Linked DNA regions of Homo sapiens: all the other regions are linked to region 5. The links are contacts of gene promoters, found by promoter capture Hi-C in blood cells and fetal thymus (Javierre and others, 2016). All regions are on one chromosome and are shown on one strand. Each heading gives the region's core, a stretch centred on a gene start or on the middle of the fragment in contact. The rest is flanking DNA. Distances are from core to core; before and after follow the strand shown.

Evidence for each region. The method cuts DNA at HindIII sites, captures the fragments that hold promoters and counts their contacts. A CHiCAGO score of 5 or more calls a contact.
Region 1: a contact is called between the fragment with the promoter of PHPT1 here and the fragment with the promoter of NELFB in region 5, in 8 of 17 cell types (neutrophils, fetal thymus, naive CD8 T cells and 5 more). The highest score is 9.8, in neutrophils.
Region 2: the fragment with the promoter of DPH7 here is called in contact with the fragment with the promoter of NELFB in region 5 in 11 of 17 cell types (naive CD4 T cells, total CD4 T cells, non-activated CD4 T cells and 8 more); the score reaches 8.7 in naive CD4 T cells.
Region 3: a contact is called between the fragment with the promoter of ARRDC1 here and the fragment with the promoter of NELFB in region 5, in 6 of 17 cell types (naive CD8 T cells, M0 macrophages, non-activated CD4 T cells and 3 more). The highest score is 9.2, in naive CD8 T cells.
Region 4: a contact is called between the fragment with the promoter of FBXW5 here and the fragment with the promoter of NELFB in region 5, in 12 of 17 cell types (erythroblasts, M0 macrophages, total CD4 T cells and 9 more). The highest score is 10.0, in erythroblasts.

Annotation. Positions count from the first base shown.
Region 1 is chr9:136,845,918-136,851,178 of GRCh38, forward strand. It overlaps PHPT1 (phosphohistidine phosphatase 1), which reads left to right and starts at 3,492. Exons shown (of 3, transcript NM_014172.6): 1 at 3,492-3,673; 2 at 4,096-4,220; 3 at 4,838-5,107. The coding sequence starts at 3,514. The coding sequence ends at 4,930. AJM1 (apical junction component 1 homolog) reads left to right here. Exons shown (of 3, transcript NM_001080482.5): 3 at 1-2,884. The coding sequence ends at 1,428. RefSeq lists silencers at 2,434-2,663, 2,884-2,943, 3,024-3,103, 3,284-3,343, 3,734-3,813 and 1 more and an enhancer at 3,464-3,743. The HindIII fragment of the contact is 15,345 bases long and covers 1-5,261 here.
Region 2 is chr9:137,576,100-137,581,242 of GRCh38, forward strand. It overlaps DPH7 (diphthamide biosynthesis 7), which reads right to left and starts at 2,826. Exons shown (of 9, transcript NM_138778.5): 1 at 2,526-2,826; 2 at 1,371-1,504; 3 at 1-68. The coding sequence starts at 2,678. RefSeq lists enhancers at 1-371, 3,106-4,077, 3,172-3,231 and a silencer at 2,512-2,921. The HindIII fragment of the contact is 6,073 bases long and covers 1-4,505 here.
Region 3 is chr9:137,603,546-137,608,656 of GRCh38, forward strand. ARRDC1 (arrestin domain containing 1) reads left to right here and starts at 2,141. Exons shown (of 8, transcript NM_152285.4): 1 at 2,141-2,290. The coding sequence starts at 2,173. It overlaps LOC124902318 (a long non-coding RNA gene), which reads right to left and starts at 1,793. Exons shown (of 3, transcript XR_007061885.1): 1 at 1,752-1,793. RefSeq lists silencers at 1,403-2,532, 2,543-2,812. The HindIII fragment of the contact is 16,425 bases long and covers 1-5,111 here.
Region 4 is chr9:136,941,215-136,945,987 of GRCh38, forward strand. FBXW5 (F-box and WD repeat domain containing 5) reads right to left here and starts at 3,524. Exons shown (of 9, transcript NM_018998.4): 1 at 3,380-3,524; 2 at 2,677-2,892; 3 at 2,135-2,292; 4 at 1,555-1,729; 5 at 1,333-1,481; 6 at 832-1,252; 7 at 323-470; 8 at 37-249. The coding sequence starts at 2,869. C8G (complement C8 gamma chain) reads left to right here and starts at 4,029. Exons shown (of 7, transcript NM_000606.3): 1 at 4,029-4,244; 2 at 4,420-4,556; 3 at 4,715-4,773. The coding sequence starts at 4,107. RefSeq lists an enhancer at 1,937-2,702 and silencers at 2,538-2,607, 2,988-3,567. The HindIII fragment of the contact is 9,073 bases long and covers 1-4,773 here.
Region 5 is chr9:137,253,864-137,259,213 of GRCh38, forward strand. NELFB (negative elongation factor complex member B) reads left to right here and starts at 1,464. Exons shown (of 13, transcript NM_015456.5): 1 at 1,464-1,748; 2 at 2,044-2,207; 3 at 2,466-2,565; 4 at 2,961-3,191. The coding sequence starts at 1,503. It also overlaps a transcript of CIMIP2A not described here. RefSeq lists silencers at 832-1,011, 1,202-1,571, 1,582-1,761, 1,802-1,861 and enhancers at 872-1,819, 1,820-2,767. The HindIII fragment of the contact is 15,726 bases long and covers 1-5,350 here.

The DNA of each region.
Region 1 (5,261 bases), core at 2,242-4,741, 410 kb before region 5:
CGCTACGCCGCACTGTCCCTGTCCGAGACGTCGCTGACGGAGAAGGGCCGCGCGGGCGAGGGCCTGGGCCGCAACTGGTACGTGACGCCCGAGATCACCATCACTGACAATGACCTGCGCGCCACCGAGCGCCCGAGCGCCAGGGCCTGGGAGTTGCCCGGGGGCCGCACGCGGCCACCTCCCCACGCGGCCCCCGACGGCCCCACCTCTGGCCGCCAGCGGAGCCTAGAGCAGCTGGACGAGCTCATCACGGACCTGGTCATCGACTCGCGACCCACCGCCGGCCAGGCCTCAGAGCCCGCGGCCGACTGCCTGGGCCCCCAACTGCGCCGACTGCTGGACTCGCGGCCCGCGGGCTCCGGGGCCCCCGCGCTGGCGCCGCCACGCTCGCCCCCCGCCTCGGCCGGCAGCGCCGAGGAGCCCGCGGCCCCGGGAGAGGCGGCCGACGCGTCCCCCGAACCCAGCGCCGACGAGGACGACCTGATGACCTGCTCCAATGCGCGCTGCCGGCGCACCGAGACCATGTTCAACGCCTGCCTCTACTTCAAGTCCTGCCACAGCTGCTACACCTACTACTGCTCGCGCCTGTGCCGCCGCGAGGACTGGGACGCCCACAAGGCGCGCTGCGTGTACGGCCGCGTGGGCAGCGTGTGCCGCCACGTACTGCAGTTTTGCCGCGACAGCGGCCCGGTGCACCGCGCTTTCTCGCGCATCGCGCGTGTCGGCTTCCTGTCGCGCGGCCGCGGCGTGCTCTTCCTGGGCTTCCCAAGTCCAGGCTCGGCCGACAACTTCCTGCGCTTTGGCCTGGAGGGGCTGCTGCTATCCCCCACCTACCTATCGCTGCGTGAGCTGGCCACACACGCGGCGCCCCTGGGCAGCTACGCGCGCGAGCTGGCGGCCGCTGGGCGCCTCTACGAACCGGCAGAGTGCTTCCTGCTCAGCGTGTCCGTGGCCGTGGGACCCGGCACCGCGCCACCGGGGACACCGGCCCTGCCCGCGCCCGCGCCACGCAGCCACGGGCCAACAGTGCGCAAGTTCGCCAAGGTAGCGCTGGCGGCCGGCAGCCCCGCGCGGCCGCCCCCGGCGCGGAGCCGCGAGCCCGACATGGAGACGCTGATCCTGACGCCACCGCCGGGCACGGCGGGCCTGGATCAGGACGGCGAGGCGGGCCGGCGCGCGCGCGAGGTGGCCTTCATCCACATCCAGCGCGAGCTGCGGCTGCGCGGCGTCTTCCTGCGCCACGAGTTCCCGCGCGTCTACGAGCAGCTTTGCGAGTTCGTCGAGGCCAACAGGCGCTTCACGCCCACCACCATCTACCCCACGGACCGGCGCACCGGCCGCCCCTTCATGTGCATGATCATGGCCGCCTCCGAGCCGCGCGCGCTCGACTGGGTGGCCAGCGCCAACCTGCTGGACGACATCATGTGAGGCGCCGGGCCCACCAGGCCTAGCCCAGGCGCTGGCCCGAACCCTGCCCTGCCCACTCAGGCCCCGCCCGGCCCACCCAGGGCCGCCCCCGAGCCCCGCCAGGGCCCCACCCCGACTTCTTCTAGGCCCCGCCTCTAATTCCCCAGCCTTCCAAGCTCCGCTCAGTTCGGCCTCCAGCTCCGCCCAGGCCCCCACCCCCCGGCCCTTCGTCCCCGTAGTGTTCCTCACAGGCCCTTCGCCTTCCCACCCCCAGCAACCCCTCTCCCTCCTCCGGGCCTCCTCCCTCTCCCAGCTCGCCCTCGAGGATCCCCAGAAGAAGTCGGTCCTCGCCCTCGGTGCTCCCCGCTGGGAGGCGGGGTGGGCCTGAGGACCGCCGAGCTCTGCCTTCACTCGGAGGGGTCACTACTGCACAGACCCCACCCGTAGAGATCCGGTCCCCGTCGGTCCGCGGGGCTCTCGCTGGAGCCTCCCCGACTCCGGTTTCCCCTCGTCCAGAAGCCCGACGTAACCAAAGCCCAGTCTGTCACTTTAAACACGCCCCGCCCCGCCTCCCGCGGCTGTGTTGCCTCCTCGCTGGAGAACACCCTGGTCGACCTCTGTGCGTCCGTGTGCGCGAGCGCGTCCCGCCGAGGCGGTGGGCAGGGCGGACGGTGCGCAGTGCGTTCCCGCTGGTCGGAGCCAGCACACTAACCACGCCACGCGCCCTGCCGTCCCTTCGCCTCCAGCCGCTGCAGTCTGGGCCCTGCAGGAGCTGGGAAAAACCGCAGGGAGGTCTTCAGGCCGATATGCAAGTCTCCCAGCCGAAGGGGCAGGGGACCTGAACAGGGGAAGCAGAGCACCTGGGCCTGGCCAGAGCTGACACCTGGCTAGGAGAGGAAGGACCAAGGGACGGGGCGTTCCCAGGTGGGAGCCTGGAGGGCAAAGCGTGGTGCGAGCAGGTGAGGGAGAGAGCTAGTTGGTAAGCGTGGAAGCCCACCCGAGGGGGCTTGACCTGTCCCGAGAGGTCCCCGCACACCCGCTCTGGCCGCACGCCGTACTGCGGGCGTGGAGGCGCAAGCCCGGCGGCCCGGCCTCCACCTGTCCCCCAAGTGCACCCTGGTCCGCGCCCAGAGCTCTCTGGAGGGTGGGGTATGCGGGAGAGGGGTGGAGGCCAAACGCAAGGGCCCTCCTGGAGTCCCCAGCCCTACTTCGGAGCCAGGGGAGGGGGCACCAAGTGAGAGAAATTGGGCACCCCCGCCTCCGCTCCTGCTTTCGCACCCGGCACGCCCATCTCGTCCCCGCGCGTCTGCACCGGCCAGGCGTCCCGCTTGCCCACCCGCCGCCGCGCCCCGCGCCCCCTACCCCAGGGCCTCTGCATTCGGCCCCACCCCTGAGGGCCGGCCGGGAACGCCCCTGGACCGGAATAATTTCCAGGGGGCAAGAGCTTTCGAACCAAGTAAAATAGAACTTGAATGTAGCGGCTGCCGTTGCCTCCTTGTACCGGTAGCGGGGTTGGGGACGGAAGCCTTCGGTCGGTGGAGAGGAGAAAGGGAGAGGCCTTCGGGCGGTGGACGGGGAAGAGAGGGAGTCCTTCGGGCGGTGGAGGGGGTGGAGAGCGAGGCCTTCGGGCGGTGGAGAGCGGGGAGGGGGGAGGCCTTCGGGCGGTGGGAGGGGGAGAGAGGGAGGCCTTTGGGCGGTGGGGGCCACGGGGAGGGTGGTCTTCGGACTACGTGCGGGACAGGAGGTCAGGGCTGGCAAGTCCCTCAGGCCTCCCTCGTTGCCCCAGCCTCGCGGGCCGCCTAACTGCCCCGTTCCAAGGGTGCCACCGGACCCCGCTGGAGAGGAACTTCTCCGTTGGCTGGATTTCATCACCACCCATTCCCGATTCCACGTTTCCTTTAAGCGGGGCTGGCGGAGCCGCAAGGCGGCAAGGAACTGGATTGCGATTGGTCAGCACGTGCCTCGGTCGGCGGTACAATTGGCTGAGGCGCTGGGCCTTGGGAAGCATTCCCCGACGGGATTGGTCGTCGCTCTCGCAGAGCCCGCCTCCCGCAGTACAAGCGGCCCCCGGGTCGGGTGGGAGGAGGGGACTCCGGGAGGAGGAACATGGCGGTGGCGGACCTCGCTCTCATTCCTGATGTGGACATCGACTCCGACGGCGTCTTCAAGTATGTGCTGATCCGAGTCCACTCGGCTCCCCGCTCCGGGGCTCCGGCTGCAGAGAGCAAGGAGATCGTGCGCGGCTACAAGTGGGCTGAGTACCATGGTGAGGGCGGGACCTGCGGGCATGCCAGGGGCACGCCTGGCGAGGCGGGGGCGGGGCTGGCGGGACGGAGACGGGGCTGACGAGGCAGGGGCGGGGCTGGCGGGGCGGGGGCGGGGCTGCGGGCCGTAGCGGACTGCGCTCTGCTCCGAGTCCTGCCCCTGCTAGGTTTGACCCAGGCTGAGGTCCTGGGCGGGAAGGGCGTGACACGGCCTGACACCCTCCCCAGCAGTCTCCCAGTTCCCGCGCCCTCCCCGGTTCCACCCTCCTTCGCTCATTCATCCCTGTCCCAGCCTCAAGGGGCTTCGTCTCTCCTGGGGAAGGGGCTGTTCAGAGCTGGGATTTCAGACCCCTTCGGCTGGGAGTTCCTCCCGCGGCCTCCAAGGGCGGCCAGGGCACGTCCTGAGGCCGCCCTCCCATCCCAGCGGACATCTACGACAAAGTGTCGGGCGACATGCAGAAGCAAGGCTGCGACTGTGAGTGTCTGGGCGGCGGGCGCATCTCCCACCAGAGTCAGGACAAGAAGATTCACGTGTACGGCTATTCCATGGTGAGCCGCAGCCCCGTCCCGCCCTGCCGGAGGCCCCAGTACCAGCTTCGAGGCCCACCTGAGCCTGCTGCCCTGACCCGTGGCCCCAGCTGAGCACGCAGGCTTCCTGGGGTTCTCCCAGGGTCGGCGGCAGAGCCCTCCCTCCAGGGCCCATTGTGTTCCTGCATTCCCCCATGGAGCACACGCCAGACCTGAGGGGTGGGACGGACACCCCCAGACATGGCCGGCTGTCTCCTCTCCCTGCCTTGGGAGGCCTTGCTGGGCTCTAGCTGTCCTCCAGCACTTTGGGCCCTGGGCCCCCAGAGGCAGTCAGTACCTGGGTGGAGCTCAGAGTCCCCACCTGTGCTCTTCACAAAAACCACCAGCAGATGAGACCCACGTGCGTCCCTCTGGGCGCCTCAGGCCCCAGGATCCACCATCAAGGTTTGCTTGCCTGTGGAGGTCGCCTCTCCCCAGGGGAGCCCCCAAGGGCGGTCGGGATGGTGGGTTTGGCATCCCCAGGCACTGCCTATCCCTTTCCCACACTCGCTTCTGGTGTGGCTGGTGGCTGGATGCCCAGAGCCGGGTATCGGGTTGAAGGGTCCAGGTAGTGCCAGCAGGCGTCTTCTCTTCTCCAGGCCTATGGTCCTGCCCAGCACGCCATTTCAACTGAGAAAATCAAAGCCAAGTACCCCGACTACGAGGTCACCTGGGCTAACGACGGCTACTGAGCACTCCCAGCCCGGGGCCTGCTGCCTCCAGCAGCCACTTCAGAGCCCCCGCCTTTGCCTGCACTCCTCTTGCAGGGCTGGCCCTGCCTGCTCCTGCGGCAGCCTCTGGTGACGTGCTGTCCACCAGGCCTTGGAGACAGGCTAGCCTGGCCACAGAATTAAACGTGTTGCCACACCTGCCGGCTTCTGAACTCTGTCCTTGGCTTCCTGCACCCTGCGTCACCACCTCCGGGGGCCCCCAGACCCTAACTAAAGCAGGTGGGTGGGGGAACACAGGAGTGGCCCCAGGGAGTGGCGGTGCACACTCAGCCCTTTGGGGTCTGATAAAGGG
Region 2 (5,143 bases), core at 1,576-4,075, 320 kb after region 5:
GCAGTTGTATGGATCCACTGGCATCTGCCAAGCCCAAGAGGGCATGTCCAGCCACCGGGATGTGACACCTGAGGAGAGGGCCCACCATAAGCACACCAATGTGCCCGGAGCACAGGCGTGCACTGTGCGTCCCGGTAACCACAGTCACGCTTCCCTTAACAACGGGGCTGCAGTCCACGCAAACCCAGCTGGGACATCCTACTACACACCTTGATTATATGGTATGGCCCACTGCTCCTATGCCACAAACCTTACAGCATGTTACTGCAGGCAAGTGTGACACAACAGGAAGTGGTTGTATATCTAAACATAGAAAAGATACAGTAAGAATACAATATAAAGGATAAAAAACAGGTGGCCGGGCATGGTGGCTCACACTTGTAACCCCAACACTTTGGGAAGCTGAGGTAGGAGGATGACTTGAGGTAAGGAGTTCGAAACCAGCCTGAGCAACATAGCAAGACCCTGTTTCTACAAACTAACAAACAAACAAAAATGAGGTGTGGTAAGGCCAGGCGTCGTGGCTCACGCCTGTAATCCCAGCACGTTGGGAGGCTGAGGCGGGTGGATCACGAGGTCAGGAGATCAAGACCATCCTAATAACATGGTGAAACCACGTCTCTACTAAAAATACAAAAAAATAAGCCGGGTGTGGTGGCGGGCGCCTGTAGACCGAGCTCTTAGGGAGGCTGACGCAGGAGAATGGCGTGAACTCAGGAGGCGGAGCTTGCAGTGAGCCGAGACCGCGCCACTGCACTCTAGCCCGGGCGACAGAGCGAGACTCCGTCTCAAAAAAAAAAAAAAGAGGCATGGTGGCATCTACCTGAAGTCTGAAGTCTCAGCTACTCGAGAGGCTGAGACAGAGAATTGCTTGAGCCCAGGAGTTCAAGGCTGCAGTGAGCTATGATCACGTGACTGCATTCCAGCCTGGGCAACGGAACAAAACCCTGCCTCAAAAAAAAAAAAATTAAAAAGGATAAAAACTGGTACACCTGTATAGGGCATCTCCATTACGTTAAGGCACCACCATGGTATACGTGCTCCATTGTTGACCAAAACATAATTATGCCACACACCACTGCATTTAAATCTCAGCTCCAAAAGTGGGCTAGAGCCTACAACTGTGTTCTCAAACAAAAGACGCCCCAGGTTATGAAGTCAGAAAACTCCCATCACTTCCCCGGCTGGAACATGACAAAGGAAATAAGCCCCAGGTAAAGCACTCCCCAGGTGGAAGATAGGCGGGACAGCAAAGAAACAAATCCAAAGTTGAGATGCAATGCCTGTCTTGTTGAAGGCATCAGGCATCAGGCTTCCCTGATTGCTACTCATGACAAATTCTACACCCAGTGGGATTATCACAGTTATACCATTTCATGTCCAGGATTGCAGAAGTATCTTTTCTTTGGACCTCGACCAGAGGGTGAATAGAGTTGTTGTCATTGAAACTGTACAGGAAGAGACGGCCTAAACGGACCTGAGGCTCCTTAACTTCCATTCCACCCTACAAAAAATGCAGAGGTAGTCTCTGATTATCCCAAGACACGAAGGAACCCAAAGGATGGGAAAAGGGATCCAAGGAACTCAAAGGTTTGCCATGACTAAAGGAGTGGAATTCTGCCTGGAAGGAGAACCTCTGGTTTTCTGAGCTGGAGAAACGTCTATTAATGAGTAGGTGAACACTCCTGGACCCAGTAGAGAAGGCTCCTTCTAAACCGGCCAACAGGGACCAGCTATGGCTAGGGTAACCACAGAACCCAGTTTGCCTGGGACAGTCCTGACTTACGCCTGTTGTTCCAGTGCCCAATTTGGATCCTAATATGTACCCACCAGAAGTTAAGATATAATTCCCACTTTCTCTTTACTGTACATTCCACCCATTCCCTTGGGCCACACCTGTATATAGAAGACGTTCTGCTCTCAAGATTTTAAAGTTGGCCGGGGGCGGTGGCTCGTGCCTGTGGTGCCAGCTACTCAGGGGGTTGAGGCGGGAGGATGCCCTGAGCCCTGGAGTCCGAGGCTGCACTCCAGCCTGGGTGACAGTGCAAGACCTTGTCTCAGAAAAAAGTAATTTCTTTTTTTTGAGATGTAGTCTTGCTGTATCGCCCAGGCTGGAATGCAGTGGTGCGATCTCGGCTCACTGCAAGCTCTGCCTCCCGGGTTCACGCCATTCTCCTGCCTCAGCCTCCCGAGTGGCTGGGACTACAGGCGCCGCCACCACGCCCGGCTAATTGTTTTGTATTTTTTTAGTAGAGACGGGGTTTCACCATGTTAGCCAGGATGGTCTCGATCTCCTGACCTCGTGATCCGTCCGCCTCGGCCTCCCAAAGTGCTGGGATTACAGGCGTGAGCCACTGCGCCCGGCCGAGAACAATTTTTTTAAAAAGATTCTAAACTGTTTCCAGCCTACCTCCTGGCCAAAGGGCCAATATCCCCTCTTCATCTCCTGGGCGATTCGGTGCGCCTTTCGGCCTCAACCTCGTGGCCGGCCCCGCCCTCCCCTCCCGAAGCCGCGGCGCGCGCACCTTGTTCTGGGGGCCGGCAGGCCGGTCCTCCGGCCGCCGCAGCTGGTAGGTCCCGCACGCCAGCAGGTGCCTGCAGCCTTGCAGCGGGCACCACTCCACCGAGTCCGCGGTCAGCTCGGTGTCCACCGTTTGCAGGGCGAAACAGCCCATCATCCAGCCCTCGGGGAAGGGCGCGGAGCCGGCAGTAGAGGCGGGTCGGCGGGGCCGGGCTGGGTACTGCGCGGGGCGGCGAGGCCGGGGCCGGCCGGACGAGCGCAGAGCCCCAGGGACACCGTCAGCGCGGGCCGCCTCTCTCGCGACTCCTTCCGGGGTGCCGGGGCGGGACATCCGGCAGGGCCTTGGCCTCCGTGGACGCCCCTGGGAAGCCAGGCTCCCACGCCCCCTGTCGGCCGGCTGACCGCGGCGGGCTTCAGGCGTCAGACGCGCTGCTCCCTGCGGGGCCGTAGAGACCGAAGGCTTCGGGAAATCCGCTCCTCCACAAAGCAGGTTTGGAGACGGCAAGTTAGTGACAGAGCCGTAGGTTTGAAGCCGCCTCTGCAAAATTTCTATCACTGAGAAAAACCCCAACAGCGAGCTGCGGTAGCGCACCCCGTGGCGCCCTCCCGGTTACTCCTGGCCATCGGGCCGCGCTGACTTAACATTTAGGCTGCAGTTTCCATGACAGGCCTTGCCCCGGAATCAACGCCTTCGTAAAGCTGATGAGGAGCCCGCGCCCCACTAAGCCCAGCACCCCGAGGCCGCAGGCGCGCTCTGCCTGCCTCCTGTGAACCCGCCATGGCGGAGCTGCCCCTCAGAGACCGCCTTCCAGGGTCTTTGCTTGTCTGACACCCGTGGCTGCATCAGGACCCCCCAGAAGCGGCTCAGCAGGTGGACGGCTCCGACCCCTATGATTATCAGCACCAGTCGCCTGGCCGCCGCCCCCCTCCCCCAAAACTGCCTTTGAAAAAACCCCTAACCTAGGAGCTTTGGACAAGATGATCTGAGGACGAACTCCATCTCACATGTGGCCTGGCCGGCCCGTGTCTATTAATTTTTTTGTTTTTTTTTTTTGAGACGGAGTCTTGCTCTGTCACCCAGGCTGGAGTGCAGTGGCGCGATCTCAGTTCACTGCAAGCTCCGCCTCCCGGGTTTAAGCCATTCTCCTGCCTCAGCCTCCCCAGTAGCTGGGACTACAGGCGCGCATCACCACGCCCAGCTAATTTTTTGTATTTTTAGTAGAGACGGGGTTTCACCGTGTTAGCCAGGATGGTCTCGATCTTCTGACCTCGTGATCCACCCGCCTCGGCCTCCCAAAGTGCTGGGGTTACAGGTGTGAGCCACTGCGCCCGGCCCTAAACTTTTTTTCTTTATTGCAATCCACGGTCTGAATGTGTGCAGCGGGCAGGAAGAACCCCTTGGGCCGTTACAGGTTGAACTGTGCCCCCCAAAAAACAATGGACTGAAGACCCCAGCACCTCAGAGAGCATCCTTAACAAACAGGGGCTCTCAGAAGCAGCAGGCGTGGGCCCTGACCCAGAGGAGCAGGAGTCCGCAGAAGAGAAAGCTGATGCAGAAGACTTGCAGGGCCATTGCTGTGCAGAGCACAGGGAGGCAGGCAAGGCACCTGGCAGGGAGGAGGCGTCCGCACCTGAGGGCCCTTGCCTGCGCCTTCATCTGAGACTCCGGCCTCCAGAGCCTAGACTGTGAATTCCCGCTGCTTCAGGCTGCACAGCTCGCGCTGCTTTGTTGCGGCAGCTCCAGGAAGCTAAGGCGGACTTGACTGAAATATACGGGTGCCTGGGTATTCAGCCTCAGGGCTTCAAGCAGGGCTGTGGCTAAAGACATGGCAGAGAGCCAACAGCTCAGACCACCACAGAGACAGAGGCGCAGAAAAGGCTGGCCAGGAAGGCAGCAGGGCATTCCAAAAGGGCCTCAACCACACACCTCTGCGGGGGAGGGAGAGTGACCAGGTGCGCATCCCAACACACCACACTCCAAACAAGCTTTAGAAGCAGCCCCACATTGCAGCCATCTGGATGTCCTCACAGGACGTCTTAGATACCTGGCTACGAAGACCAAGAAGTCGGGGCCACGGAACGGGAAAGATGACCAGAGGATTGGGTATCAGGTGAGAGGGAAGCAGTGGTGGGGCCCGTCCCACCCTCACGGTGCCACCTGCTGGGGTGAGGCCTGGAGGAGCTGCCACATGCAAACCTAGAACCTGCACCGCCCCCTTCCCCAGCGTGGTGTCTCACAGGTGGGAGGCCCTGGGCGCTTCTTTCAGTGCACTTTTCTGATGAATGACTGCCAAACAAAGCAGCCCTGCTGGTCAGGGGCAACATGGCCACACCCCTGGATGCAGGTAAAGGGGACCCCTGCACTCCGTGCTCATCCTCAGACTCTATCTGAAAGCAGGCTGCCTGAGGGCACTCGGGGCTCCAGGCCTGAAGACTGCCCCAAACCCCAACCTGCTGACCCGCCATCTCTAGGGACACATATGTCCCCCTCCCTGGCAGCTTTCACCTACTCAGCAAAAAATGTCCCCAACCTTTGCAGCAGCTAAGGGGGCTTCTCAGGGCCTGATGTGGGCACATGCAGTTCTCTAAGCTCCAGGAAATCCTGCGGAGTTTGTTGATATC
Region 3 (5,111 bases), core at 891-3,390, 350 kb after region 5:
GCCACCTGTGTTCTGTGTCCATTGTCTTCCATCTCAGTAGCTTGCAATACAGTCTGTCTGTCCCTTGCTTGAAACACTTTCTTTTTTTTCTTTTTCTGTTTTTTTTTTTTGAAATGGAGTCTCACTCTGTTGCCCAGGCTGGAGTGCAGTGGCGTGATCTTGGCTCACTGCAAGCTCCGCCTCCTGGATTCACGCCATTCTCCTGCCTCAGCCTCCCAAGTAGCTGGGACCACGGCGCCTGTCACCACGCCCGGCTAATTTTTTTTTTTCTTTTTGTATTTTTAGTAGAGACGGGGTTTCACCATGTTAGCCAGGATGGACTCGATCTCCTGACCTCGTGATCCGTCCACCTCGGCCTCCCAAAGTGCTGGGATTAGAGGTGCGAGCCACCGCGCCCGGTGAAACACCTTCTTTCTGACTTCTGGCATGGCCGACTGCCATTCGGGAGGGCTGTCCACAATCCTTGCCATCCCATGGCACCCTTCTCTCTTGTTCGGGAATTCTGCCTGTGCATAGCCTTGGCAGGAAAGTGTCTGGAGCATGGCCAGTTAGACCCACCTCCGGAAACATCGGAATCCTAAGGGAGTGAGCTGGGCCTGGGGCTTCAGGGCCTCTCCCAGCCTGGCCCGGGGGCCCCTCCAGCCTGTGAGCCCCTTTCTCTTTGCTGGGGTGCCAGACTCCTCCTCCCTGACCTGTTACCTTCTACCAACTAGGGATGGCAACATTTTAGTGCTTGACTCCCAGGCTCATGCACGGAAGTACTTGGTCCATTGGGGATCAGTGGCACCTCAGACTCTGCATGTGATGACCCTCCCACCCCCAAACCATGTGTATCTAGGTCCGTCCTCCCCATCAGAGAAGGCCACCCTCTTCACCGGCTGTCCTAGAAAAACTCGCAGCACTGGGGCCCGCACACCCACTCCGTGGTGAGCTGGTCCTTGTCGAGCGACGCCTTCCCTCTCCAGGACTACCCAACCGGTCTCTCCCGCCTTAGGTCCCCTGGGTATTTGAGTCCCACCCCCCGCGGCTCACTCTCTACAAAGGGACCCTTTAAAAAAGATAAATGGGAGTGTGTTCCTCCTGGTTTCAAGTGATCCAAGTCCTCGCCCCACCTGGCCCCCGACCCTTCTGCTGCGGACCCCTGCCCAAGGGCCTCCGCCCAAGTGTGGCTCCCTTGGGCCCACACCCCATCAGGCCAGCAAGGAGGGGGATAGCGGGGGGCGGGGCAGGTGCTGGGACTCCGGGCAGGTGCGGGGAAGGCAGGGGGCGGGGGGGGAAGGGGTTGGGCGATGCAGGTGTTGGGGGCCGGGACAGTTGCGGGGGTAGGCAGGTACCGGGAAGGCGGGAGGGCGGGCAGGTTCCGGAGGGGCGCGACAGGTGCTGGGACGCGAGGTAGGTGCGGAGAAGGTTGGGGGTGCGGGGCAGGAGCCGGGGGTGGGGGTTGAGGCGGGGCAGGTCCTACGCGGCGGAGCATCCCCGCCCAGGACGCCCGCGCGGCCCCGTGACGTTTTTCCGCGACTCGGGGTGAGGGAGACCCCTGGGCGGGACGGGCGGAGGGTGGGGGCGGAGGAGTGGGTTCTGCCCGCAGCAGAGTGCAGCGGGGAGACCTTCCCAGTCTCAGAGCTCGCCTCGGCCCCGCCCCCAGCCCTGCCCCCCGACGGAGACGCGGCGGTGACTCCCTCCGTGGGGGACGCACGGGACGCTTGCGCCTCAAGTCCCTTAAGCGGCGCCCGACGCAGCGCAGCACCTACCCAGCCGGGACAGGGCCAGGGCCGGGGATGGATGAGCGCGGCCGGGGGGCGGGGCAGGGGTGGGGCGGCCGAGGCAGGGGCGGAGCTGGGAAGGCGAGGCAGGGGCGAAGGGCGGGGGCGGGGCGAGGAGGCTGTCAGAGGGGCGGGGAATAACGAGGGGGCGGGGCCACACGGACGGATGGGGCGGGGAATAGGGGCTGGGCCGGGCCTCCGAGCGGCAGTCCGCGGGCTACGGGGCGGCCGGGGGGCTGGGCGGGGCCGTGGGGCGGGGCAGGGCCTGGGAGGGGCCGGATGGGGGTGGAGGCCGGGATTGGGACGGATGGGGGCGGGGCATAGGAGGGGGCGGGGCCGGGCCTCGGAGCCGGGACTCGCGGGCGGCGGGCGGGGGCGTCGCTGCGCGGCTGGCCGGTGAGGCCGCGGCATGGGGCGAGTGCAGCTCTTCGAGATCAGCCTGAGCCACGGCCGCGTCGTCTACAGCCCCGGGGAGCCGTTGGCTGGGACCGTGCGCGTGCGCCTGGGGGCACCGCTGCCGTTCCGAGGTGGGCGCGGGTCCTCGGGGAGGGCCTTTGGCCGCACCTGCGCGGGGCCAGGGCTCCCGGAAGCGGCTGCCGTCGCCTGGCCCCGGGTTGGGCCCGCGGAGTCGCTGTCTTCGCCGCCCGGGACTGCTGGGAAGCGGGCTCGGCGGCGCCGGGGAGGTCCGGGCGGCGCCGCCCTTCCGCGTCTGCCCTTCCTGCCCTCTCGCCGAGGGGCGGCGGGGTCCCGGCGGGGCCTGAAGCGGGTCCACTGTGGAGGACGCCCTGAGCGCGGGCGCACGCAGGCCTGCGACCCTCCCCGTCCGCGCTCGCACCTGCTGGGCTCCTTCCCGCACCCTGGCTCCCGGCGCAGGCGCTCCCGCTGCAGAGCCGCTCCTGGCGCGGGCGTGCGGTCCCGGCGGGGTGCAGACACCTGCTGCGGCTCCCTGCGCCCCCTGCCACCCGCCAGCAGGCCTCGCCGGCCCCCCGCCGAGGTGGACGCCTGGGCCTCGGGGACTGGGTATCGGGTTGCTGCAGTGGCCGCTGGCAGGGCGCCCTGGAGGTGAGGGCCGGCCCGCGAGGTGAGGCTGCCTCTGCCCGGCCCTTGGCTGTGAGTGCCGCGTCCCTGCCGGGGACTTCTCTACCTTGGCCTCCTGTGGGAACCACCTGGGCTGCTTGGCCTGTGCCACAGCCCCTGGACTTGCCGCTGGACCTTGACCGCTGGGCCCGCGCGTGGGTAACAGCACCGATTTTGTGCCTGCTGAGAACCCACAGTCTCTGTTCTGTCCTCTCAGCCTCCTGGGACAGGTGATGGTGCTGTGGCCCTGACCCTGCACCGCCTGAGGCTGTGGGGCCTCGGAAGAAGCCGGGTGGTAGGTGCTTCTGTCAGGCTCCTGGCCCCACTGGGCCTCCTGGGATGACCCCACAGCCTCCCTTCCTCTGTCCCAACCTTGAGTTTGGGGTCTGGGTGGGGGCAGGTGTGGCCGTGGCAGGGCAGAGATAGCACACACATCTCTTGGGTACAGGTGTGGTGTGTGGTGAGGCCGGCTGGATCCTGGTTGAGGGCTGTGCAGGACCCTGTCGTCCTTCCCCTGGCGTGGCCTGGGGTGAGCAGGCCATTGCTTACCACAGGGAAGGGACGGCCCCGCGGTGCGTGACTGGCCTGGGTGTGCAGGCTCCCCTGGCCTCCGGGTGGACGTGGTGGGTGGGTTGAATGCTCACGCCTGTAATCCCAGCACTTTGGGCAGCTGGCCCAAGAGCCGAGGGAGCACTGGCTGATGGTCCTACCTCACAGAGGCTGGTCTGAATGAGGGAGAAAAAGGAGGGTCGTGAGCTAAGGAGTAGGAGATGGGCCCTGATGGGCCAGAGAGCACATGATTCAGGCTGCTGCAAGTGAGGTGGGAGGGTGTACCGGGGCCCCCGGGGGTTTCCCCCAGCCCTGCCTGGGATGGGAACAGAAGGACCATGGTTTCTTTTCCTCATTCAGAGGATGCTTGTCAATCCTGCTAGGAGCCAGTAGGGAGGCCCTCAGCCCCCAGGAGGACAGCAGCCCTGCCTGGGCCCCAGAGCTTGCTCACTTACTCTGCCGATGAGTGTCGGTGACAGTCAGCACCCAGCCGTGAGGACACCGGCTGTCTAAAGGGCTGACGCGGAGGGAGGCCTGGGAGGGAGCAGTTTTCTGGAGCTCAGGCTGGCCCAGTCCAGGGCTGGGGTTCAGGCAGGACCACTTCTTGTTCTGCTGTTACTGGGATGGGCGACCAGGGCCGACAGTGGTTCTCGGAGCACTCATGGTGGGCCCGATGCAATTCTCTCCACGTGCCACGGGCCAGCCTCAGTTAACCCTCAGCGCCCTGGCAAGTGGCACGGTTGTTACTCTCATGATACAGATTTGGAAACAGGACTGGGGGAGTGGCTTACAGGTCACAGCTTCTGTGGCAGGCGTGAGTCCTTTGGGATGAGGATGAGGAGTGGGTGGGTCTTCATGGTCCAAGTGCAGGTGGTGCAAGGGAGGGGCTGCTGAACAGGTGGGAGCCCCAGCTGGAGAAGAAAGTTCCAGTGGTCACTTGAGAACGCAGCCCAGTCATGATCTTCCTTAGAGTCAGAGAGGCCTGCAGCCTCCAGCAGCTTGTCCTTGCTTGTGCATCTGAACACAGGAAACATTTTTTATTTTTATTTTTTTAATTTATTTTTTCGAGACGGAGTCTCCCTCTGTCGCCCAGGCTGGAGTGTGCCGGCGCGATCTCGGCTCACTGCAAGCTCCGCCTCCCCGGTTCACGCCATTCTCCTGCCTCAGCCTCCTTAAGAGCTGGGACTACAGGCGCCCGCCACCACACCCGGCTAATTTGTGTATTTTTAGTAGAGACGGGGTTTCACCGTGTTAGCCAGGAGGGTCTGGATCTCCTGACCTCGTGATCCGCCCGCCTCGGCCTCCCAAAGTGCTGGGATTACAGGCGTGAGCCACCGTGCCTGGCCAGGAAACATTTTTTAAACCTGCATGGGGGAGGAGGGACAGGGCTTGCAGGGCCCCTGCAAAGAGGTGCAACGTTCAAGTCCAGAAGGCGGAAGAAGTCACACTCTGACTAGGGGACTGCCACTGAGCCACTCAGTCCTGCAGCCAAGCCCTGCCTGGTGGCTTTCCTGTTGCGAAAGGCTCGGTTCCCTTCAGCGTGTTCTGCCATCACAAGCAGTCTGCAAGCTGGAAAGAAGAGGGAGCGGGGTCGTATGCCGCCAGCAGCAGGGAGACCCCTCACAATGGACCCCATGTATTGCTCTGGCTTCTCCGTGGGCAGAACTGCATCCTGTGGTCCTGCCTGATTCGATGATTTGAAAAGGCAGAAACATGGCCGCT
Region 4 (4,773 bases), core at 2,274-4,773, 310 kb before region 5:
GCCCACACCCGCCCTGCACCACGCCGCGCCCTGCACCTGGCCACGAAGTCCCTGCTGACGTCCAGGAAGATGAAGAAGCACTCGTCGTTGGGCGTGTAGGCGCGGTGCGCACGCAGAGCCCGCCTCACCTCCCGCATGGTCTTGAGGTCGAACACCAGCAGGTCAATCTCCTCCGCGATTGGTGGCGGCTGCATGGGGTCGGCCACCACCGCACCGTTGGGCCAGGCGCGGCTGTTCACGTACAGGTACCTGGGCGAGGGGCACTGTGCTAGGTGTGGGCCGCCTGCGGGCACCCCGCCTGGGACACTGGCAAGAGGCCCACCTGTTGTCGGGCGACAGGCCCATGCCGATGATGTGTCCGTGTATGTCTATGACGTGGTCCAGCGCGTCGAAGAAGGCATCGGAGCCCCGGCCCTCACCCAGCACGGGCCCTGCCGTGGTCATCTGGTGTGGCAGGATCTGCTTGATGCCTGCAGGGAGGGCTACGGTGAGGGTCCCTGTCCAATGCCCCAAGGACATCACTCCAGGGCAGCTTCCTACCTCAGTGGTGTCTCTGGGGCTGTGAGCACCACAGAGGTCCGTGGGCACTGCCTGCTCCGGGGGCCCCAGACCTGAATCAGGCCCGTCGGTTGCTTGCTGGCCAGCGGCCCTGCCTGCGTTTGTTTTCACTGCTCATCCCACAGGCCCCAGGTCTGGGCTTGTGACCCCAGGGGCGAGTGAACGATCCCAGCTTTGCCTGTGGACTTGCTTGCTGTCTGCCCCTCAGGACCCCTGCCCGGCCTCCCCCAAGCTCCTAGGACCGAGGCGGGCAGCATGGCGGCAGGGGTGTACCGATCTGGTGTGGGGAGTAGGTGAGGCAGCCAGTGGTGAAGATGAGGTACTTGCTCTTGGCGCCTGTGGCACTGCGCTCGGGTGGCTTGGTGTGGCCCTGGGCCAGCAGCTCGGCCACCTTGGTCTCTAGCATGCGCTCCGACAGCTGTGGCTGCGCCCGCCCCTCCAGCACGCGGTCCAGAAAGTGCCGCAAGCCCTCCTTGGCGTGGGCGGGGGCCGGGCCAGCCACCACCTCCTCGTTGTCGCTGCCCAGGTCAAAGATGCGGCAGGGGGACGTGGCCGGGTCACCGGCTTCCAGCAGCAGGTCAGGGCTGTCGAAGCGGCTGCAGTCGGCCACCATCACCGTGCGGACGGTGCTGGCATTGAGGTTCTGGATCTTGAACAGCCGCTTCACCACGTTGACGTTCTCTGACTCCACATCCTGGGGGCGGGGGCACGTGCCAGGTGGGCGCCGGGCGCCAGGCCCCAGGAGGGCAGCCCCGCCCCTAGCCCCGCACGCACCTGGAAGGCATTGTTGAGCCACAGCACCGAGCAGGAGGTGATATCTCCGATGCGGTGCAGGTTCCCCGAGATGAGGCTGGTCTCGGTGAGCCAACAGCCAAACACGTCATAGGGCTTGTTCCGCACGCGGGACAGCAGCGCGAAGGAGTCTGTGGGGAGGCCGGGGCTGGACAGGCTGTCGGCGTGGGGCGGGGGCAGGGTCAACCCGCCGCCCGTGCTCACCTAGGCTGATGACAGCAATCTCGCCGGATGAGGAGTTGTGCGGCCCCAGGAACACCCCCGAGGCCAGCAGTAGCGAGTCGTCCTTGTTGAACTGGGAGAACTGGGTGTAGCTCCAGTTGTAGGGCCGCATGTCCGCGCTGTGCAGCAGCGAGATGGTCAGGTCGTTGCTCCAGATCTGTTCGGCAGGGGCGGCTGTAGTGATCGCCTGGCCAGGTCGCGGGGCGGGGGCCTGCTACTACACAGCCATGAGGCCCCAGCTCTGCCAGCCCTACTCAGAGGCCACCAGGGAGCAGGGACCCCTTCCAGCCACTGTCATCCACTCGGGGGGCATTGGTATAGAGCGGAGGAGCCTGCCCCTGAAGCAGGCGGCTGTGTGTGGGACCCTCTCCTCAGCACTCAGGGCCACCCTGCACCGCTCCTGATCCTCTGTGGTCCCTCCGCTGGATGCAGGGAGGCTGCTGTCACCTCTGGCCTGACCCACCCCCCCCCCCACCACCACCTGGTTGGAACGCCTGGGTCCTGGGACCTCCGTGCTGCGGCAGAGCTGGGTGGGGTGTGCAGGACACCTGGCCGTCCTCACCTTCACAGTGCAGTCCTTGGAGCAGGACGCGAACTGGTACCCGGAATGGGAGAAGCTGAGGTGCAGGACCTGGTCTGTGTGTTCCCGCAGCGTCTGCACCTCCACGCAGGGCACCGTGTCATACAGCCGCTGGAACTCCTCGTACCAGGACATGGCCGCTGCGGGTGGGCAGTTGTCAGTCCTGGGCCCGGGCCTTCCTCGCAGTCACGGCCATGAGCCGAGTGTGGCCCCAGCAGTCCTGGCAGGCCCCGTGGTGCCCCTGGAACCCACTAGTCATGGCATAGGCCTCGGCTGGGGGATTCAACCCTGTAGCTCACAGAGACCCCTGTACCCCCCACCCCCCAAGTGACCCAATGAACCCTCTGGCCTCCAAGCTCTGAGGGGCGCCTGCGCTGTGTCCTGACAGGCCTCTATCAGGGTGTGGGGGGGTGAGCATGGACACGCGGGGCCGCGGGGCGGGCCCCCAGCCAGGCTGACCCCCAAGCGCAGGGGCCCGGGGCCCTGGCTGCAGAACGTGGGTAGGGGCCCCACACGCCACTGACCTGGGTGTCGGGGCACGTCGCGGGCCACCTGGTAGTAGCGGTAGAACTGCTCCCTCCACAGGAACTCGTCCCGCGACACGGCCTGCCATTGGCGGCACACCAGCCCGGCGGCCAGCACGTCGGCCGGGCCCAGGCTCAGGAAGATCTGGTAGACCAGGCTGTCGGGGAGCAGGGGCGTGCCGCCCTCGTCCATCGTGACATTCTGCCCAGGCGGCCCTGAAACCCACCAACGGCTGCCCTCAGCCCAGGCCCGGGAAGGGAGGCCGAGAGCGGGCGTCCTGTTCCTCCAGCCCCAACCGTCCCGCCGGGAGTTCCACGGGGCTGCGTGTCTGCAGGGGACGCCCGGGTACCGCCGCCCAACCAAGGACCCGGCAGCTCCGGGCGGGCCGGGCCGGCCCCTCTCCGCCGCGTCATCCCCCGGCCTCCTGCGGCCGGCAGCGGGCGCCCCTCAGCCCGCCAGGGCCCGGACCGCCGCACGCGAGGCACGGGGACACCAGGCGCCGTCCGGGGACGGGCTTCCGCCGAGAGGAAGCTCGGGGCGGCCAGGCAGTGGCCTCCGCCCTGCGGCCCTGGAGCAGCTCTGCCCGGCGGGCTCGGGGCGGACGGCGGGGACGAGCGCACGGGCGGCCTCGGGGCTCCTGCACTCGCCCAAGGCGGGCGGGGACGACAAGGCGGGACCCCCGAGGGCCGCAGGCGCACTCACCACGGCCGCCTCCGCCCGCTGCGCCGCCCCCGCCCTGCGCGACCCGGACCCGCTTCCGCTGCCGCAGCCGCTCGGACCGCCGCCCCCGCCCAACGGGGAGCCCGCCAGGCCCGACGCCACGAGCCCCGAGGCATCGATGGCCGAGGAAGGCAGAGCGCGCGGGTAGCCCGCATCCGCCCCTCGTGCGCCTGCGCCTTGGGCTCCGGCGGCCTGGCCGGCTTTTCTTTGTGCGCCTGCGCGCACTCGGGCGCATTGGGAACAGCGCCCCTTGTGGCCAGCGGGCGGCGGTCGTGGGCGGGGTTGCAGGCGAGGCTCAACGAACGCTGGTTCGGGACCCGCCTCCGGCGCTCCCTGTTGCCGGGCCCTGAGCAAGTGGCTTCATGAACCCCGTGACGTTGGCCATGGAGATAAGACCACTGGGTGATGGTTTAAGGAAGATAACGTGTAAAGGGCTAAGGACTGTCGGTGGAAATCAGGGGTGCAGGAGAAATGGATAAACAGCCAGAGGTCAACTCGGACTTTGTACATAGGACATGGTGCCAGGGCCCTGCCAGGAAGTGCAGATCGAAGCTAGGCTCACGAGGAGGCTGGAGGTGGGGGGTGGGGAGGCAACGGATGGACATGGACTTCCTGGGCTGGGCTCTGTGACAGCAGAGTAGACTCTGTCCTGGGACTTGGTGGTGCTACCCTTGGCCTCCCACAGTCCTGCCACCCTGCTGCCGCCACCATGCTGCCCCCTGGGACTGCGACCCTCTTGACTCTGCTCCTGGCAGCTGGCTCGCTGGGCCAGAAGCCTCAGAGGCCACGCCGGCCCGCATCCCCCATCAGCACCATCCAGCCCAAGGCCAATTTTGATGCTCAGCAGGTAGAAGTTGGGGGGGGTAGAGGGAGGCAGGTAGAAGTTGTGGGAGGGGTAGAGGGAGACAGGTAGAAGTTGTTGCGGGGGAGAGGGAAGCAGGTGAAGTTGTGGGGGGTGTAGAGGGAAGCAGGTGAGGGGCCCTCCCACAGTGCCCTCGAGTTCTCCCATGGTCTGCCCCCAGTTTGCAGGGACCTGGCTCCTTGTGGCTGTGGGCTCCGCTTGCCGTTTCCTGCAGGAGCAGGGCCACCGGGCCGAGGCCACCACACTGCATGTGGCTCCCCAGGGCACAGCCATGGCTGTCAGTACCTTCCGAAAGCTGTGAGTCCCAGAGCAGCCCTGCACCCTAACCCCAACCCTCCTCTCAGCCCCCGGACTTCAGCCCTGCTCTGGCCCCTGACCCCACCCCGGCTGTGGCCTGGACTAGGATTCCTGGTTGGGGTCTCCCAGCCTGTGGTGCCTCCTCCCCGCCCCCCCAGGGATGGGATCTGCTGGCAGGTGCGCCAGCTCTATGGAGACACAGGGGTCCTCGGCCGCT
Region 5 (5,350 bases), core at 214-2,713:
CCCACTTCCCCTAGGCCTTGAGCTGAAGACCTGGCTGGGCTTAGTCACCTGTGCCCTGAACACTCTGGCCCAGGGCCCTGCAGACTCCACTCCCGGGGCCTTCACCTGCTGGGACCCTGCACTGCCCCTGCCTGCAACTTCGCCTGGCTGGGGCCTCCCTTGTCATCACTGGCCTGCCCTCCTACCCAGGGTCGGGCCCCAAGGCTGCCACCTTGCAGGAGCCTTACCTGCGGTGCCGTCACCCGCACCTCCCCAGGTCCTCCCCAGACCCAGGACCCAGACCAGGCCCAGAGCTCAACCCCTTCAAAAAGGCTCTGGGCAGCTGCTTCTGTGGCCTCAGCACCACCCCCTTTCTCAGAGAGGAATCCCAGGCTCAGGATTGTGTGTGTGCTGTGACCCTTGTCCTCCTCTGCCACCGAACCAGCTGGGGGTTGGATCAAGGCACTGGAACCCTCGCCCTAGGGCTGACCAACTTGGCCAGCGGCAAGAGAGCTGTGGTAGCCATGGCCTTGGGAGCTCGGCCCGGCTTGTGGGAACAGGAGCTCTGCTCACGGCTGCACCACCAGGCACCCCTGGTGAGACCCAAAGCTAGGAGTGGGAGCGGCAGGAAAGATGGAGCGATCTCCTCCAGCTGGGCTGAGGAGGGAGGGCTTCCTGGAGGAGGTGGTGGAGGAAGAAGCCTTCAAGGAAGAGCAAGAGTTTGCTGGGCAGCGGGAAAGAAATTTCTAGAGAAAATTTCAGCAGCGGAGACCGAAAAGAGAGAGGGTGTGTGTAGGGGGCTTGGCGCGGCACAGCCTGCGGGAGGGCGGCGGGCTGGAGAGGCGGGGAGGCCCGGGGAGCCCACCCGCCTGGGATAAGAAGGGACACTGTGGAACCTGGACTCTCCTTCACGGCTCCGCGGAGCTCGGTGGGCGCCACAGCCTCCCGGTGCCTGGGAGGGCGGCCGTCGCTCGCGCTCCCGCTGCGGGCCCGGTCTCCGCCAGGCCCCGGCCCCCTGAAGGCGCTCAGATCTCAGTTTTGGCGACAGCGCCGGGGTGGGCTTCGTGCCCGTTTCACGCGGAGGAACCCACGCTCAGGAGGGAGTCTGCGCCTGTGTCCGGCCCCTGCGGGGCAGAGGGGCGGGGAGCTCAACCCCCGGCAAAACGTCCCCGCTGCGCGTGGCTGCCGCGAGATCTGCAAGAGCGTTTTCCACGCTTATGTACACGAAATTCACTCGGCTGCGACGACGTCCGTTCCCGGAGCAGACGGACCCTGAGTCCGCCCCCCACGCCCTCACCCGCCCTCTTCTGCCAGAAAGCCCGGGCGCGGGCGGGACCGGGTGGGCGCATGCGCGCTGGGCTGGCTGGGCGGGGTCTCTCGCGCCGGGTGAGGGCGCTGCTCCCAGGAACCTGCGCGCGGCCCCGGCGGCGTTTCCCGGGGGCCGGTTGGCGGGCGGACCTGGGCGGTGCGGGGCGGAAGTGGGCGGCTGCGGGACGCGCGCGGAGTCGCGCGGCGGGCGGGACCTGGCCGAGCTGGAGGGCGCCGGGGAGCGGGGCTCGGGCGGTCCCCGAGGCCCGGCGGAGCGGGCTTCTGGGGTGTCTGCGGCGGCGCCGGGGGAACGGGCTGGGGATGGGGCGCCTAGCCGGGCGGTGGCCGGGGCCTCGGCCATGTTCGCGGGGCTGCAGGACCTGGGCGTGGCCAACGGCGAGGACCTGAAGGAGACCCTGACCAACTGCACGGAGCCGCTCAAGGCCATCGAGCAGTTCCAGGTGGGGCGGCCCCCGGGGCGGGGGGAGCCCAGTTGGAGGGCCGGGCCGCCTGCTCGGGAGTCGGGCCTGGCGGAGGCGCCGGAAGTTTTCCGGCTTTCTGCTGGTGGCTGAGTCCTGTTCTGGGGGTGGAGTCCGGAGCCAGCACCCCTTTGCTGGACGGCTGGGTGGCTTTCGGTGGCTGCGGTTACCGCCAGCACGGCTGGGAACACCTGGGTGCGTGCCTCCCTGTGCTCTCAGGACCTCGGGGTGCCCGGGCGCACTGGGCTGCGTTTGAGGTTTCTCTTGGCTTCCTCAGACAGAGAATGGTGTGCTGCTGCCATCTCTTCAGTCAGCCCTCCCCTTCTTGGACCTGCACGGGACGCCGCGGCTGGAGTTCCACCAGTCGGTATTCGATGAGCTGCGGGACAAGCTGCTGGAGCGAGTGTCAGCCATCGCTTCGGAGGGGAAGGCTGAGGAAAGGTGGGTCAGCGGGAGGGGTGGGCAGGTGAGATGTGCAGCCGGCCTCTCAGCCTTGGATCGACTCAGGGGCATTTATTGTCCTTTTGGCTCCACATCCTTGCTCCCAGAGGTGGCCTGGGCCTGTGTCTGAGTGACCCCTTGACCCATGTGTCCTGGGCGTGGAGGCTTGTCCTGGTAGCTGTTATCTGTGTAGGGACAGGCAGGTAGCTGCTGCGATTTGGCGCATCGCTGCACCATCAATCCTGTGAGTTGTTCCAGGTACAAGAAGCTGGAAGACCTTCTGGAGAAGAGCTTTTCTCTGGTGAAGATGCCGTCCCTGCAGCCCGTGGTGATGTGCGTCATGAAGCACCTGCCCAAGGTAGGGCCCTAACCCTAACCCTGATGGCGTGGACCGTCCGCCCACTCTCATGCCCTTGGTTAGTGGAAGTTCCGGTGGCCGCCTAGCTCCGGGAGCTTCCTGTGCTGCCTGCCCAAGTGCTGTCCATGGTGAGCTCTGTGCTGACTTCTCCCACATGAGCCGCGTGGAGACCGAACCTTAGCACTGGAGTTAGGGTGTGGGGCCCCTCCTGGGAAAGAGCTGTTGGTATTTAGCATGTCTGTCTGACATGCTGGGGCCGGGGAACCAGTCATAGGTGCCCTGTGGGGTGGAGCTTAGCTCGAGGTGGTCTCTGCGGGGCTGAGGCCTCTTGGCTTGTCTTGAAGGAGACCCAGGGACACAGGTGCCACTCACAGGCAGCCTGTGGTGTCATGTAGGTTCCGGAGAAAAAACTGAAGCTGGTTATGGCTGACAAGGAGCTGTATCGAGCCTGCGCCGTGGAGGTGAAGCGGCAGATCTGGCAAGACAACCAGGCCCTCTTCGGGGACGAGGTTTCCCCACTCCTGAAGCAGTACATCCTGGAGAAGGAGAGCGCTCTCTTCAGTACAGAGCTCTCTGTCCTGCACAACTTTTTCAGTCCTTCCCCCAAGACCAGGCGCCAGGGCGAGGTGAGGGGACAGGCCGTGTGCGGGGTGGGGCACCTCTTGGGGATGCCACGGCTAGCGCCTTCAGCTGCCTGGGGATCAGCACTCTGCTGCCCTGTGAATGATCGGGTGGTTCTGCTTCTTGGCTGGGTGGTGGGGGAGGGCTGGCTTGTACACATGCTGGAAAGAAAGTTGGTTGTTTTTCTGTTTGCATTTTACTTTTCGTTAAAGTGATATATGGACAACATTTAAAATCTGCGGAAAGCCCGCTCATGTGAAGTTAATCCCCCCTCCCCTACTTTTTTTCTTTTTCTTTGAGACGGAGTCTCGCTCTGTTGCCCAGGCTGGAGTGCAGTGGTGTGATCTCGGCTCACTGCAAGCTCCCGGGTTCACTCCATTCTCCTGCCTCAGTCTCCCGAGTAGCTGGGACTACAGGCGCCCGCCACCATGCCTGGCTAATTTTTTTTCTTTTTCTTTTTTTTTTTTTTTGAGACGGAGTTTCGCTATTGTTGCCCAGGCTGGAGTGCAATGGCGTGATCTCGGCTCACTGCGACCTCCGCCTCCCAGGTTCAAGCAATTCTCCTGCCTCAGCCTCCCGAGTAGCTGGGATTACAGGCATGCATCACCACGCCCGGCTAATTTTGTATTTTTAGTAGAGATGGGATTTCTCCATGTTGGTCAGGCTGGTCTTGAACTCCTGACCTCAGGTGATCCGCCCCCCTCGGCCTCCCAAAGTGCTGGGATTACAGGGGTGAGCCACCGTGCCTGGCTTTTTTTCTTTTTTTTTCTTTTTTAAGAGACAGGGTCTCACTCTGTTGCACAGGCTGGAGTGCAGTGGCGTGATCACGACTCGCTGCAGCTTTGACTTCCTGAGCTAAAGTGATCTTCCTGAGTAGCTGGGACCACAGGCACGTGCCACCACACTGGGGCTACTTAAAAATATATATATATTTTTGTAGAGGTGGGGTCTGGCTATGTTGCTCAGGCTGGTCTTGAACTCCTGGGCTGAAGCGATCCTCCCACATCAGCCTTCTAAAGTGCTGGGATTACAGACATGAGGCACCATGCCTAGCCGAGATTTGTTGGGGTTTTTTTTTTTTTTTTTTTTTTTGAGACAGGGTCTCACTCTGTCACCCAGGTTGGAGTACAGTGGTGTGATCGTGGCTCACTGCAGCCTCGACCTCCTGGACTCAAGCAATCCTCCTACCTCAGTCTCCTAAGCAGCTGGGACCACCGGTGTGTGACACCATGCCTGGCTAATTTGTATACTTTTTGCAGAGTTGGTGTTTCGCTGTGTTGCCCAGGCTGGTCTCGAACTCCTGGGCTCAAGTAATCTGTCTGCACACCTCAGCCTCCTGAAGTGCTGGGATTATAGGTGTGAGCGACCACAACTGGTTGTGAGATTTTTTAATTAGCCAATTTTTTTTTTTTTTTTTGAGACAGAGTCTTGCTCTGTCACCCAGACTGGAGTGCAGGGCCTCAATCTCGGCTCACTGTAACCTCTGCCTCCTGAGTTCAAGCAATTCTCCTGCCTCGGCCTCTCGAGTAGCTGAGACTACAGGCGCGCCCCACCATGCCTGGCTAATTTTTTTATTTTTTTGTTTAGTACAGACAGGGTTTCACCATGTTGACCAGGCTGGTCTTGAACTCCTGACCTCAGGTAATCCGCCCACCTTGGCCTCCCAAAGTGCTGGGATTACAAGTGTGAGCCACTGCGCCCGGCCCTAACCAACTTTAAACTAGCACTGTTCAGTGGAAAAAGCGAACTATAAGTTAAGATTTTTCAGCATCCACATTAAGAAAAAAAAATGAGATCAACTTCATTAATGTTTTCTTTGGTCCAGTATATCCAAAATATTATCTTTCAGCATGTAATTCATGTGAAAGATTGGGCTGGGTACGGTGGCTCACGCCTGTACTCCTAGTACTTTGGGAGGCGGAGGTGGGAGGATCGCTTGAGCTTAGTAGTTAAAGACCAAAGGGAGACCTTGTCTCTACAAGAAAAAAAAATTAAGCTAAGCATGGTGGTGCGTACCTGTTGTCTCAACTACTCAGGAGGCTGAAGCAGGAGGATTGCTTAGGCCTCGGATATTGAGGCTGCAGTGAGGTATGATTGAGCCACTGCACTCCAACCTGGGCGACAGAGTGAGAGATCCTGTCTCAAAAGGAAAAAAAAAATATTG